Linked DNA regions of Homo sapiens: region 1 is linked to region 2. The links are contacts of gene promoters, found by promoter capture Hi-C in human tissues and cell types (Jung and others, 2019). All regions are on one chromosome and are shown on one strand. The core of a region is centred on a gene start or on the middle of the fragment in contact, and the rest is flanking DNA. Distances in the headings are between cores, read along the strand shown. Region 1 overlaps SLC47A2 (solute carrier family 47 member 2). Region 2 holds the start of SLC47A2 (solute carrier family 47 member 2).

The links. Contacts are between HindIII fragments. The study calls those that stand out against the background at their distance.
Region 1: a contact is called between a fragment that was not itself captured here and the fragment with the promoter of SLC47A2 in region 2, in 4 of the 25 tissues and cell types used here (dorsolateral prefrontal cortex, mesendoderm cells, spleen and 1 more).

What each region holds. Positions count from the first base shown.
Region 1 is chr17:19,679,696-19,686,100 of GRCh38, forward strand. SLC47A2 (solute carrier family 47 member 2) reads right to left here. Exons shown (of 17, transcript NM_001099646.3): 14 at 1,843-1,975; 15 at 1,672-1,766; 16 at 257-344. Among named protein-coding and RNA genes, the nearest start is that of SLC47A2, 34 kb to the right of the region's middle. RefSeq lists an enhancer at 1,155-1,656. The HindIII fragment of the contact is 5,655 bases long and covers 335-5,989 here.
Region 2 is chr17:19,712,655-19,719,114 of GRCh38, forward strand. SLC47A2 (solute carrier family 47 member 2) reads right to left here and starts at 3,930. Exons shown (of 17, transcript NM_001099646.3): 1 at 3,779-3,930; 2 at 2,462-2,563; 3 at 2,067-2,135; 4 at 1,171-1,319; 5 at 49-91. The coding sequence starts at 3,901. LOC124903948 (a long non-coding RNA gene) reads left to right here and starts at 1,692. Exons shown (of 2, transcript XR_007065659.1): 1 at 1,692-2,581; 2 at 4,720-6,460. RefSeq lists enhancers at 3,408-4,257, 4,258-5,105. The HindIII fragment of the contact is 9,747 bases long and covers 1-6,460 here.

The DNA of each region.
Region 1 (6,405 bases), core at 1,912-4,411, 34 kb before region 2:
TCATCTGAAAATGGGCATACATCTAGTTGCCTCTCAAGGCCAAAGACTTGGTGTGGGGCCTGGTACTTGCATGCCTGCTAGACAATAGATGTTGTTGTCTTCCTGGTGCTTAGGACATCATTTTCATAATAATGGGAAGAAAAATAGCTTGGGCTTGTACAATTTCCAATTGCATGAGGCACAGAGGGCAGACAAGAGCAACATGCCACTGACATTTATATGTGTACCAAAGTAGAAGCAGCGGTGACAGTATTACCTGAAGATAGGACTGCTTTCTCAGGCCCAGGTCTGGTTGCAGTGCTCTCTGCTCTCTGCTGCTGCTGCCGGCCTGAATGTTTCTTAGCCTAAAGGAGAAAGAACTCAATTGGGTCAACCTGCCAGCTCAACAGTTCACCCCTTCACTGCTAGCCTCGCATTCTCTGTTTTTAAAACATTGCAAGCTGAAGCAGCATATATGCATGTATTCATAGTCATGGGGCTTTTAGAAAGTATCATTTTAAGGCTGGGCATGGTGGCTCACACCTGTAATCCCAGCACTTTGGGAGGCCGAGGCGGGTGGATTGCTGGAGCTCAGGAATTCAAGGCCAGTCTGGGCAATATAGTGAAACCCTGTCTCTACCAAAAATACTAAAAAATTAGCTGGGCATGGTGGCGCATGTCTGTAGTCCCAGCTACTCAGGAGGCTGAGGCAGGAGAACCTCTTGACCCCAGGAGGCAGAGGTTGCATTGAGCCGAGATTGTACCACTGCATTCCATCCTGGGCAACAGAGCGATACTCCATCTCAAATAAATAAATGTATCATTTTAAATATCTGTTTATCCAGCATCTTAAGTGTCAGGATGACTTTTTCTGTGCACAAAGGCAAAACCACACCCTGATAGGATTCAGGGTCTTTGAGAGAACACTGCTTCTGTGCTCTGCTTGCAGACTTGAGTTGTGCCTTTGCTGTGCCTGAGATGCAAAGGCTGCCCTGCCCTGTTTAAAAAGGACATCAAAGAGGATGGTGGGCAGGGTGATTTTATGACCCCTTCCAAAGTCAAGGCACACGCTCGGGGGTTCATCTGGGTTCAGACTAGTTTGAGTTCTTTGCGTTTGTTTGGTTTTCCACAGATGGGGCTGTCTAAGGAAGGTTTTTGGTTTTGTTTCTGTTTATAACTGCAGAGCATGCTTCTTATACTGGCCAATTACAGTGACAGGAGCCACTGTTGAGGCTCAGGTGGCCCCTCTGTAATCCCCCACAAAACACCTGCAGCACGCCTGTAATCCCAGCACTTTGGGAGGCCAAGGTGGGCGGATCACGAGGTCAGGAGATCGAGACCATCCTGGCTAACACGGTGAAACCCCGTCTCTACTAAAAATACAAAAAATTAGCTGGGCGTGGTGGCGGGTGCCTGTAGTCCCAGGTACTGGGGAGGCTGAGGCAGGAGAATGGCATGTACCCAGAAAGTGGAGCTTGCAGTGAGCTGAGATCGCGCCACTGCACTCCAGCCTGGGCGACAGAGTGAGACTCCATCTCACAAACAAACAAACAAAAAAAAAAAACACCTGCAGCTTATACCACACTGCTGCCAAGTTCTGATGTGCTCTGGGCATTTCTGGCTGAGTAGTCACTCCACCTGCTGGGGTCAGGTGCAGGGTGTCTTGTGGCCAGGGTCAGCTGACCCACTTACCTCCTCTGCAGCAAGCTTCCAGTCCAGCCGGGCAGTATAAGCAACAAAGGCAGCAGTTGCCAGGAAGACACAGGCCAGCATGCCCAGCCAGAGGCCTGGAGGAGACAAGTGATGATGGGAACAATGTCCGACGACCACCCAGGCCTCTCCCGACTTCCTCACACCACATACCCATGATTCTCATTCTGACCACAAAGGTCAGAAGGATGCCCAGTGGTAGGCCGATGATGTAATATGTGATGGCATTCACAGCGGCACCAAAGGCCTGCTTCCCAGTTCCTCTCAGAACTCCGCCATAGACACACTAGGAGGGGAGACAGAAATGGGCAAGAGTCAGGATGATGAGACTAAGAGCAGGTGTCATGCAGCAGGCACTGTGCTAAGCCATTCGCATGGCATTGCTTCACTGAGTTCTCACAGCACTGGATGGGTGCCCTTATCTCCCTTTCTTCCCTGAGGGTGGCTGTCCAAGACAGGTCAGATCACTTGTCCATGTTACACAGAAGTAACTGTGTTTTGAACACAACCCTACAGTACTCAGGCTTCACTGCCACACCATATGGCCTCCCTAGAAAGTAAAGGTAGAATTGGTGGCCAGCAACCAGTTGGTCTGGGAGACTGGACTAACTTCACATGATACAGAGGTGGTGTGTTGGTTTCCTGTGGCTACTGTAGCAAATTACTGCAAATATTGTGGCTTAAAATAACATAAATTTGGGCCGGGCATGGTGGCTCATGCCTGTAATCCCAGCACTTTAGGAGGCTGAGGAGGGCAGATCACTTGAGGTCAGGAGTTCAAGACCAGCCTGGCTAAAATGGTGAAACCCCATCTCTAAAAATACAAAAATTAGCCAGGCAAGGTGGCACTGTAATCCCAGCTACTTGGGAGGCTAAGGCACGAGAATTGCTTGAACCTAGGATGCACCACTGCACTCTAGCCTGGGCGACAGAGCGAGACTTGGTCACACACACACACACACACACACACACACACACACAAATTTATTATTTTATTTTACAGTTCTGGAGGTTAGAAGTTTGAATTGGGTCTCACTGTGCCAAAATCAAGAGCTTGTTCCTTCTGAAGGCCCTAGTTGAGAATGTGTCTCTGCTTTTTCTAGCTTCTAGAATTCCTTCTGTATTCATTGGCTGGTGGCCCCACATCACTCTAACCTCTGCTTCCAGCCTCACATCTCCTCTGACTCTCCTGCCTCCCTCTTCTAAGGACCCTTGTATTTACATTGGGCCCACTTGGATGACCCAGGATAATCCCCCTATCTCCAGATTCTTAATCACACCTGCAAAGTCCCATTTGCCTTGAAACACTCACAGGTTCTGGGGATTATGATGTGGACGTTGAAACTTGGGGGCCATTATTTTGCCTACCATGCATGGCAAACAGTGGTTGTTAGCTTATTCCATATGAGACAAGCAGCCCTCACCCACTGCTGTCTGTGATTATGTCTCATCTCAAAGATGAGAATTGCTCTGGAAAAAGTACTGTTTATTTCATTAGTCTCATTTTCCCAACGTGATTCCAGATCTTCTGAACTACAGGCACAGCTCATCCTTGGTCAGGATTATTGGCCAATAGATATTTGGTTATTTTTATTTTGTTCCTGTGAGAGGTGGGGAGTATTTTGTGGTTTGTACACATTTGAACAAAGAGGTAATGCACTGGGGTTAGGAGATGTATGCCTCTTGAACTTTGTAATATGGTATGTATATTTCTGGTTATTATATGTCATGGCATGATCTTTTTTGGCTAAAGACTTCTCCCAAATTATGATTGATGTACCCTGGACCAGTGTTTCTCAAATGGGGATGACAAATTCTGGGATGTTTTTGTTGTGACAACTGTGGGGGTGTGGTGGGGGAAAGTGTTACAGCATCTAGTGGGTAGAGACCAAGGATGCTGCTAAACATCCTACAATGCCCAGGGGACCGCCCTCCCCCCACCAAACAAAGAGTTATCTGGTCTAAAGTGCCAGTAGTGCTGAGGTTGAGAAACTCTGATTTAGAGTATTGTGAATTAAAGTGGCAATTTCAGTGGCAGGAAGGGCCAGTGGCTTTGCTAGCCTGAGGTTGTGGGCCTGTTTGGGAGAAGCCATCGACCAGTGGACTAGGCAGGGATTTAAGAGGGAGTTTGATGAGGTAAAACAGCCAAGGGAATGGGGAGGTACTGGTAAGTTCTCTACATATCCCAAGCTGACCAGAGGCTGTGCATATGGTGTAGCAGAGACCAAGCCTCCCACATGTTCCTGGACAATGGAGCCTGTCCACATGGGCTGAAGAGACCCGTAGTACCCAGAAGAAAGTAAAAGCCAGGACTCACTTGAAAACAGCTGGAACTCTGAATACGTCTCTAGCCCACACATGGATCTGTCAGCAGAGAATGGAAGCTTTGCTAGCTATCAGAGGTGTTGAACACAGTCTCTGACCAGTAATTGGCTGAACACTAAGCTCTGCAGACATTTTTAATCCTAGAAAGAACATTTTAAACTAGAAAGCTAGACTTAAAAAAATAAGAACAAGGGGGAAAAAACTGAGCAAGAGACATCAGCAGCTGTACATTGTAGAGGAGACAGGAGTCACAGAATCAGTCTAAGCAAGTTACTTAACCAACACAATGACATTCCTTGGGTCTCACATGCAGCATTCTCCAGGATAGACCTGCGGTAGGCCACAAAACAAATCTCAATAAACTAAACTTAAAACAATCTTTTTTAAGAGATGGAGTCTTGCTATGTTACCCTGGCTGGTCTTGAACTCCTAGGCTCAAGTAGTGCTCTCATCTCAGTCTCCTGAGTACCTGGGACTACAGGCACATTCCATCATGCCTGGCAAATTTTGAAAGACTGAATTCATACAAAGTATGTTCTCTGGCCACAACAGAATTAAATTAGAGATGCCTGCCAGAAATAAAACCCCAAATATTTGGAAATTAAATGCACTTCTAAACCATAAGTCAAAGAATAAATCACATGAGAAATTTAAAAATATTTCAAACTTGAAAATTTTGATGAACATCAAAATTTATTAGATGCAACTAAGGCAATGCTTAGAGGGAAATGTACAGCTTCAAATGCCTATATTGGAAAGGGAGAAAGGTCTCGAATCAATGACCTACTATTCTACCCTAAGAAGCTAGTAAAGAAGAACAAACTATACCTAAATGAAGTAAAAGGATAAGAATGTAAAAGATTAGTGTGGGCCAGGCATGGTGGCTCACACCTGTAATCCCAGCACTTTGGGAGGCCAAGGCAGGAGGACTGCTTGAGGCCAGGAGTTAGAGACCAGCTTGGGCAATATAGCAAGACTCTTTCTACAAAAAAAAAAAAAAAATTAAAAGTTAAAAAATAAATAGATAAAAGATTAGTGTGAAATCATTGAAATAAACAGCAGAAGACTAAAACATGCATCTATTAAAAAAACTACTTTTCGCCCTCTCCCTCTCCCTCTCCCTCCCGCTCTTGCTCTCGCTCTCCATCTCCCTCTTTCTACGGTCTCCCTCTCTTGCGGAGCCTGGACTGTACTGCCATGATCTCGGTTCACTGCAACCTCCCTGCCTCAGGCTCCGGTGATTCTCCTGCCCCGGCCTGCCGAGTGCCTGGGATTCCAGGCACGCGCTGCCACTCCTGACTGGTTTTTGTATTTTTGGTGGAGATGGGGTTTCGCCGTGTTGACCGGGCTGGCCTCCAGCTCCTAGCCTCGGGTGAAGTGCCCGCCTCGGCCTCCTGAGGTGCTGGGATTGCAGACGGAGTCTCGCTCACTCAATGCTCAATGTTGCCCAGGCTGGAGTGCAGTGGCGTGATCTCGGCTTGCTACAACCTCCATCTCCCAGCTGCCTGCCTTGGCCTCCCAAAGTGCTAAGATTACAGCCTCTGCCCGCCCGCCACCCCATCTAGGAAGTGAGCAGCGTCTCTGCTTGGCTGCCCATCGTCTGGGATGTGAGGAGCCCCTGTGCCTGGCCACCCCATCTGGGAAGTGAGGCGCGCCTCTGCCTGGCTGCCACCACGTCTAGGAAGTGAGGAGCGTCTCTGCCTGGCCGCCCATCATCTGGGATGTGAGGAGCCCCTCTGCCTGGCCGCCCCGTCTGGGAAGTGAGGAGTGCCTCTGCCCAGTCGCCCCATCTGGGAGGTGAGGAGCGCCTCTGCCTGGCCGCCCCGTCTGGGAGGGTTAAATGGATTAAGGGCGGTGCAAGATGTGCTTTGTTAAACAGATGCTTGAAGGCAGCATGCTCATTAAGAGTCATCACCACTCCCTAATCTCAAGTACCCAGGGACACAAACAGGGCCGAAGGCCGCAGGGACCTCTGCCTAGGAAAACCAGAGACCTTTGTTCTGGTGTTTATCTGCTGGCCTTCTCTCCACTATTATCCTATGACCCTGCCACATCCCCCTCTCTGAGAAACACCCAAAAATGATCAATAAATACTAAATAAATAAATAAATAAATAAACTACTTTTCAAGACATAGTGTAAGATATAAATAGAAACAACAAAGTTAAGAAACAGCAGGGGATGAAGTTAAAGTTTTTCTTAATTTTCTCTGCTTGTTTGTTTTTGCAATCAGTATTTAGTTGTCACTAGTTTAAAAATAATGGATTATTGGCCAGGCACAGTGGCTGATGTCTGTAATCCCAGCACTTTGGGAGGCAAAAGCAAAAGACCTCACCTGAGGTCAGGAGTTCAAGACCAGCCTGGCCAACATGGTGAAACCCTGTCTTTACTA
Region 2 (6,460 bases), core at 2,680-5,179:
AGAATTTAGGGGAATGTGATTCCACGCTCAGCAAACAGGGGCACCTACCGGAAGTCCTGGAATGAAAATCATTACATAGTCCTGGGTCAACCTGCAAGAGAGGGAGAAGCTCCGGAGCTGACCAGGCTGTGGCCCGGGGAGGCAGGGCCCTCTCCCCTGTGTCCTCCAGGACTGGGTGCTCGGCCGCTGTCCCAGGGTCTCAGCCAGGACTGTGAAACCTCAGCATCAGGGGCTGCTGCTTCCAGATGGTAAGCAGGTGCCAGGAGGGGCAGCCGAAACACCCAAACACCCAGGCCTCAGGATGAGGGAACTTAAATTCAGAGTAACGTGGTTCGTAAGAAAAAAAGGTTATATCTTAAAAAGGAATAACCAAATGAAATGTACATAATATAAATGAACAAGGCATCCCTATGAGAGGGATTTATTATAAAATAAATTTAATAATAAACTATAGGCCGGGTGCGATGGCTCATGCCTGTAATCCCAGCACTTTGGGAGGCTGAGGCAGGTGGATCACGAGGTCAGGAGATCAAGACCATCCTGGCTAACATGGTGAAACCCCGTTTCTACTAAAAATACAAAAATTAGCCTGGTGTGGTGGCACGTGCCTGTAGTCCCAGCTACTCAGGAGGCTGAAGCAGGAGAATCACTTGAACCTGGGAGGCAGAGGTTGCAGTGAGCCAAGATTGCACCACTGCACTCCAGCCTGGGCGACAGAGCGAGACTCTGTCTCAAGTAATAATAATAATAATAATAATAATCATCATCATCATCATCATCTATAATTCATCAAAAAGTGGTTGTCATCTTTCTCCTTTTCGGAATATGGGAAAATGCACACACTTCATTTCTTCGAAAGCATCTGTAAAGCTCCAACTGTGTCCGGGCACACAAATGCAAATAAAATGCAAATCCCAAATTGTTTCTTGCCTTGCCTTCTAAATTAAAACTGGGCGTTTGTCCGCCTCTGTCCCTGCTGGTCACTGCTGGAGCCGCAGCCATGGGGAGAATCCCCAAACCAAAGCCTGGAAGGTACCCACAGGCACCGTGCACTGTGAGCACTCGTGGCCTAGAGAAGCATGGGGTGTGAGGGCTGGGCATCTTCAGGGTTTCCCTCGGCGGCCCGGGTTTCCCAGCAAGCCCCACCTCCCCAGCCGGAGCCCAGCGCACCTGGACACGTCCGGGTCCTGCCGGAAGAGCAGCAGGATGTGCTGGGTGTTGAGGAAGAGCGCCCAGCAAGGGAGGCAGCAGAGGAGCAGGACCAGCGCGCCCCGCTGCAGGATCACGCCCACGTGCTTCTTGTTGGGGCTGCCGAAGCTCTGCAAAACAGCCCGCCCCGCGTCAGCCGTTTCCACTGCCCGGGACATTCCTAAATCCCGCGCGGGGAGCGGGCTGTCAGCGGCGCCAGCGGTGTGTGGCGGACCCGGCGGCCTCTGGTGACCACAGCCTGGCGCCCGCAGCCTGTAATGGCACAGCGGCCTTCCTGAGCCTGGGCCTACCACTGTCTCCACTGTTCTTCCAAAGCTCCAAGGAGGACGAAGGCACATGGGGCTTCATCACATGTCAGCGGCAGGTTAAGTGGAGCCAGGACAAAGCCCAGGTCCACCGTGAAGCTAAAACCCCCAGGGAGAGGTGAGGCCTTGCCGCTTTGTGACCCCATGGCCACCTGGGCAGCCCCTGCTGGACTGCAGGCCCCTGCAAGCAGGGAGGTTCCTTCTGTGTCCCCTTGGCCTTCGACACATGCCTGCATGTAGGCAGCCGAACTTAGGATTGAGGCTGGGGAACCGGTTGTCTTTCTCTACTTGGTGACCTCCTCTGGGGGCAAGAGATCAGAGAACTGTCTCCACCATCTCCACCCCTTTCTCCTGGCCCAGACTCTTTCAAAGGGGAGGGTCTGTTTCCCTGACAGCCTGTGGTCCTTGGAGGTAGGGCAGGGGCAGCTGACCCCAGGGCCCATTGCTCCCAGATCACCTGGCTGCGCCCCTCCCACCTGCCATCTCCATGGCACCTGTGGAATTGGCTCTGCCCTTGCCTGGCTTCCTGCCCAGCTCCAGGAGGCCACCCACCTGAGACATCAAGGTGTCACATGCCGAAGACAAACCAACTCCTACAGAAACTCCGCAGACATTGACAAACTGGCGCCACACACAGGAGGAAACAAGAGCTTGTCAGGTGAGGCCTGAAGAGAGGCCCCTGCATCTGGGCTGAGCCAGGGTCAGGAAATGCTGCCCAGCAGGCAGCGGTGGCAGAGGCTCTGCTCAGCAGCCTCATGTGCTGTGTGCCCCAGGGCCAGACCGCCTCCATCTCCGGCCCTCAGGTTCCACCTGTGAAGGCAGCTGTCCAGCCACGTGGGCTGTGTCTTCCCATCCCTGACCAGCCACCCAAGACGGGCCCACCCGGGAACCCGGTGGAGAAGCCTGGGGAGAGAACGTCCCTGCTCTGGGCCAAGCTGGGTACTCACGGCCACCGCGAGGGTCACCGATGCCAGCTCCACCTTGCCCAGGTGCCCGCAGAACACAGTGCTCACGATGTAGATCATAAAAGTCAGCACCTGGAACAGGAACTGGAGGACAGCGGCCAGGTCAGACTCGGGGCCACAGGTGCCCACACAGCCGAGCCCTGCAAGACAGGCCTCTCCAGCTTTGAGGGCCCCGCACCAGTGCCCCGAGAGGTCACCTACGCCTGGGGAAGCCAGGGCTGGAGGTCGGATGACCTAGCCCAGCTCCCATTCTGCGTTCTGCAGCTGCAGTCACGCCTGGCCTCCACGTCCCTACCCAGAAGGGTCAGTGCCTGGCGCAGCGCAGTGCCTGGCGCCCTGAGCTTGACCCAAGTGTCTGATACTGCTATTGCAGTTCCTATTATAACAATAATTTGGTCAGGCCGCACACCCCCAAAAAAGGAGGGGAATTAAATACACCAAAATCTTAGTAATGGCTATTTCCAAGTACTAGGATTTGAGTTAAATTTCTTTCTTCTTTATATCTTTCATTTTTTTCTAAAAGTTTTACAGGAAGTGCAATTCCATTACTCCTTTTTGGTTTTGTTTTTTTTGTTTTTTTTTTTTTTTTTGAGACGGAGTTTCGCCCTTGTTGCCCAGGCTGGAGTGCAGTGGCGCGATCTCGGCTCACTGCAACCTACCCGTCCCGGGTTCAAGCGATTCTCTGCCTCTCTCTCCCAAGTAGCTGGAATTACAGGCGCCCGCCACCATGCCTGGTTAATTTTTGTATTTTTAGTAGAGTCGGGGGGTTCTCCATGTTGGCCGGGCTGGTCTCCAACTCCTGACCTCAGGTGATCCTCCCTGCTCGGCCTCCCAAAGTGCTGAGATAACAGGCGTGAGGCAGCACGCCCAGCCTATTCCTCTTCATGATCAGAAAAAATAAATGTATTTAAAACAATTTCCCCTTTGGAAATGAAATGGGTAGCCGGCCCCTTCTTCCCCCTGCGAAGGTGCTGCAGGCTTCATGCATCTCTGGGTCCCATTTGTCCTGGAGCCATCTTCCAACTCAGGCTTTTGTGGGTTTCCAGCTGAGGCACACCCACCCCTTCTGTGTGGGGGCTGCCTGCTGCTGAGCAAAGTCAGGCCCCACTGCCACTGGGGATTGTCCAGAGACAGCTTTCAGGAGCCATCCTGCTGTCCCCAGACTCTGGACCTGGCAGTCAACATGGGCAGTTTCTGGGGAAAATGTGAGCACATTTCTGGATCCTGCCTGCAAGGCAGACACCCTCAGCCTCTCAGCTTCCTCCACTCCCTACCTGCCCCCCAGCTCCTCCTCCTTACCAGGGGTCCAGAAAGGGCAAAGAGAGTCCACATCTCAGTCCCAAAGCCTCTGGGAACCAGCCTGCTGAGGGCAGGGCAGCAGCCCCCATGGTCCAGGGCCACTGTGTCCTGGAGGCTGTCCATTCCTGGCCGGGGCACTGGCTACCCTGCACGCCTGAGCGCCTGCACGGCCAGCTTTGTCCAGCGAGCCACCCCCTGCCTGGGCAGCCCGTGTCGGTACAGCCTGGCTGATGAGTAAGGGGCAGGAGGAGGGGCTACCATGGCAACTTGTGGGATGAGCCCTGCCTCCTAGGGCACTGAGTCCCTGCTGCCAAGCCTACTGCCTCAGCCACTAGGGAGGACAGGTTCCTGGGAGTCACCCAGACCGCTGCCTGTTGTGTCTGGTCTCCCAGAGGGATTGGCAGTAAGGCCTCAGCAGGAGAAGGTCCAGGGCTGCCTGCAGTGGCTGTGGGAGGTGTGCTGAGGCCAGGACAGGGCAGCCTGGCTGGGGCAGCTGAGCCACTGGGCGTCCTGTACCCGGGCGTGATGGTGCCCACAGTGACTCCCGTTTTTCAGAAGAATTGGTGGCCTGCCCGAAGTCACAGAGCAGGTGGTGGCAGAGCCTGAACAGCCCTCAGCCCTGCTTTTCCCTGGGAGGGGTGGCTTCCCAAGAGACAGGGGCCTGGCAAACCCCATGGCAGTGCGGTCCCTAGCCTTTCATGCTGGAGGGGCCTGGGCCTGGGCCTGGGGATAGGGATGGGAGCTAGGACACCTCGGCGGAGTCCCAAGCCCCCCACTGCCCGTCACCCCTTTCAGCAGCATATCTGAGAGCCAGGGGTGGCAGTGCTTGGGAAAGCAGCTCACTATGCACGCCAGTCACTGTGCCCAGCAAGGCTGTGACTCGACGTCCCACAGGGTCCTCTGTCACCTTCCCAAATTGCCCTCTCTGCTTTTCCTTGCAGGGATGGCCTGTGACTCCCCCCTCAACCTGCCTCAAGACCAGCAGGGCAGTGGGAACCAAGAGAGGCATCTAAGGATTGCACCGGTCACCTAGCCCAGTCCTGGATCAAGCTTTTGGGTGTGGTTCAGCCCAGGAGAAGGAGGAGTGAGCGAGGGGGGCAGGAAGACAGCAGGCAGGCTGGCCAGTGGCTGTGGGAGGGCTGAAGACATCCCAAAGGCCCCACTTGGTTCCCATGTCCACCCCTGCAGCGGAGGAGTGGCCGGCAGGATTCCGAGATGCAGCCCCCAGAGCCGCGAGGAGGAAGGAGCAGACCCTGAAGGAGAGGAGGCAGGACAAATACAAAAAAAAAAAAAGGGTTTGCTACACCCATGGGCGGCCCCAAACACAGGCACAGCCCCACCCCAGTCAACACGCAGCCTTCTTTTTTGACACAGAATTCTGAAACGCTCCACTGGATCCTCCCAGGATCACCTGGGAGGTCACATTCCTGCCCTTGTTCTGATGGTTCTTATCACAGCACTCTCCAACCTGTGCACCAAATAGTACCTTTACCACCTGCCTAGAGGAAAGAAGACATTTTATCACCATCGTGATTGTGATGATGACACCAAACAGGAGGAAGTACAGGTGAAAGCTACAGCCCTGCAGGCCAGGCTATTGCTAGTATGTCTGACTTCCCTCCTCCAACACCTTCTCCACGTCCTTCTCACCTTTGGCCAGTTCTCATGGTCAGCCTACCTCTTCCAAAAGGGCAGCCGCAAATCCTCCTGCATCCAGGGGACCTGGGCCTGGGGTCTCTGTTATGTGAAACCAGCTGCTTCCAGCTGACAGGGCCTCTGGGGAGAGCAGTCACCTGCTGGCCTTGGCCTGTCACCTCCTGTCGCAGCATTGCAGTGAGCCCTGCAGCCAGAAGCAATACTTCTTGGGAGCCCATGGCGATGGGGGTGTTCAGGGAGCCCACACGTGGAGGTATAGGCAGAAGAATCCATCTCACTCCAGGTCACTTTTAATGAGGACAGCTGGTTCCCGTGCCCCCACCAAGCTGGAAGGTGTTCAGTGCAGACGCCCCGCCATCAGCTCGGTGACATCAGGCTTTATCCAGAGCTGACCAGTGTTCAGCACTCAGCTGCACAGGACAAAGGTCGGGTCATCTTCCCGAGGGCCAGTCCTAGGCCGAGCATCTCCAAAATCCCTTCTCAGGAACATTCCCAGGATTTTTGTGATAGAAGCCAATGCATTCCTACATTTTCTTCGGGAAGACACTCTCCTCCTACACTCCTCTCAGAATTTCAATCCCCAGACCCCAGTGGGTTTGACCCTGGGGAGGAGCAAGGGCGATTACTGACTCCACTGCCATGCATTGGCCGCCCCAGGCAAAGGTGGTGCAGGCAGAGTGGGGGGTGGGGGGAAGCCACCTCCTCCAGGTGAGGGGTGTCAGAGCTCCGTGAGTCCTCCATAGTCTCCTGGCAATGCCTTCAGGCCCTCCTTTTGTGGTGGTAACTGCAGACTCAGCAGCACCGCCCTGCAGCCACCTGCAGACTCAGCTCCGAGTTGGGTTTTCCAGGATTCTGCCCCGGAACCTGAGATACTTTGAGCGGAGCTGCACATGGCCCCTGTGCGCCATCCTGTGGCTGGGGCGGGGGGAGCCTCCGAGACTTCAGCCTCTGCCCTCTCTCCAGAGCTTCCAATGCTGTCAGGAGCAACATGCCACCCTTCAGTCCTGCATCTTCTGTGGTCTCAGA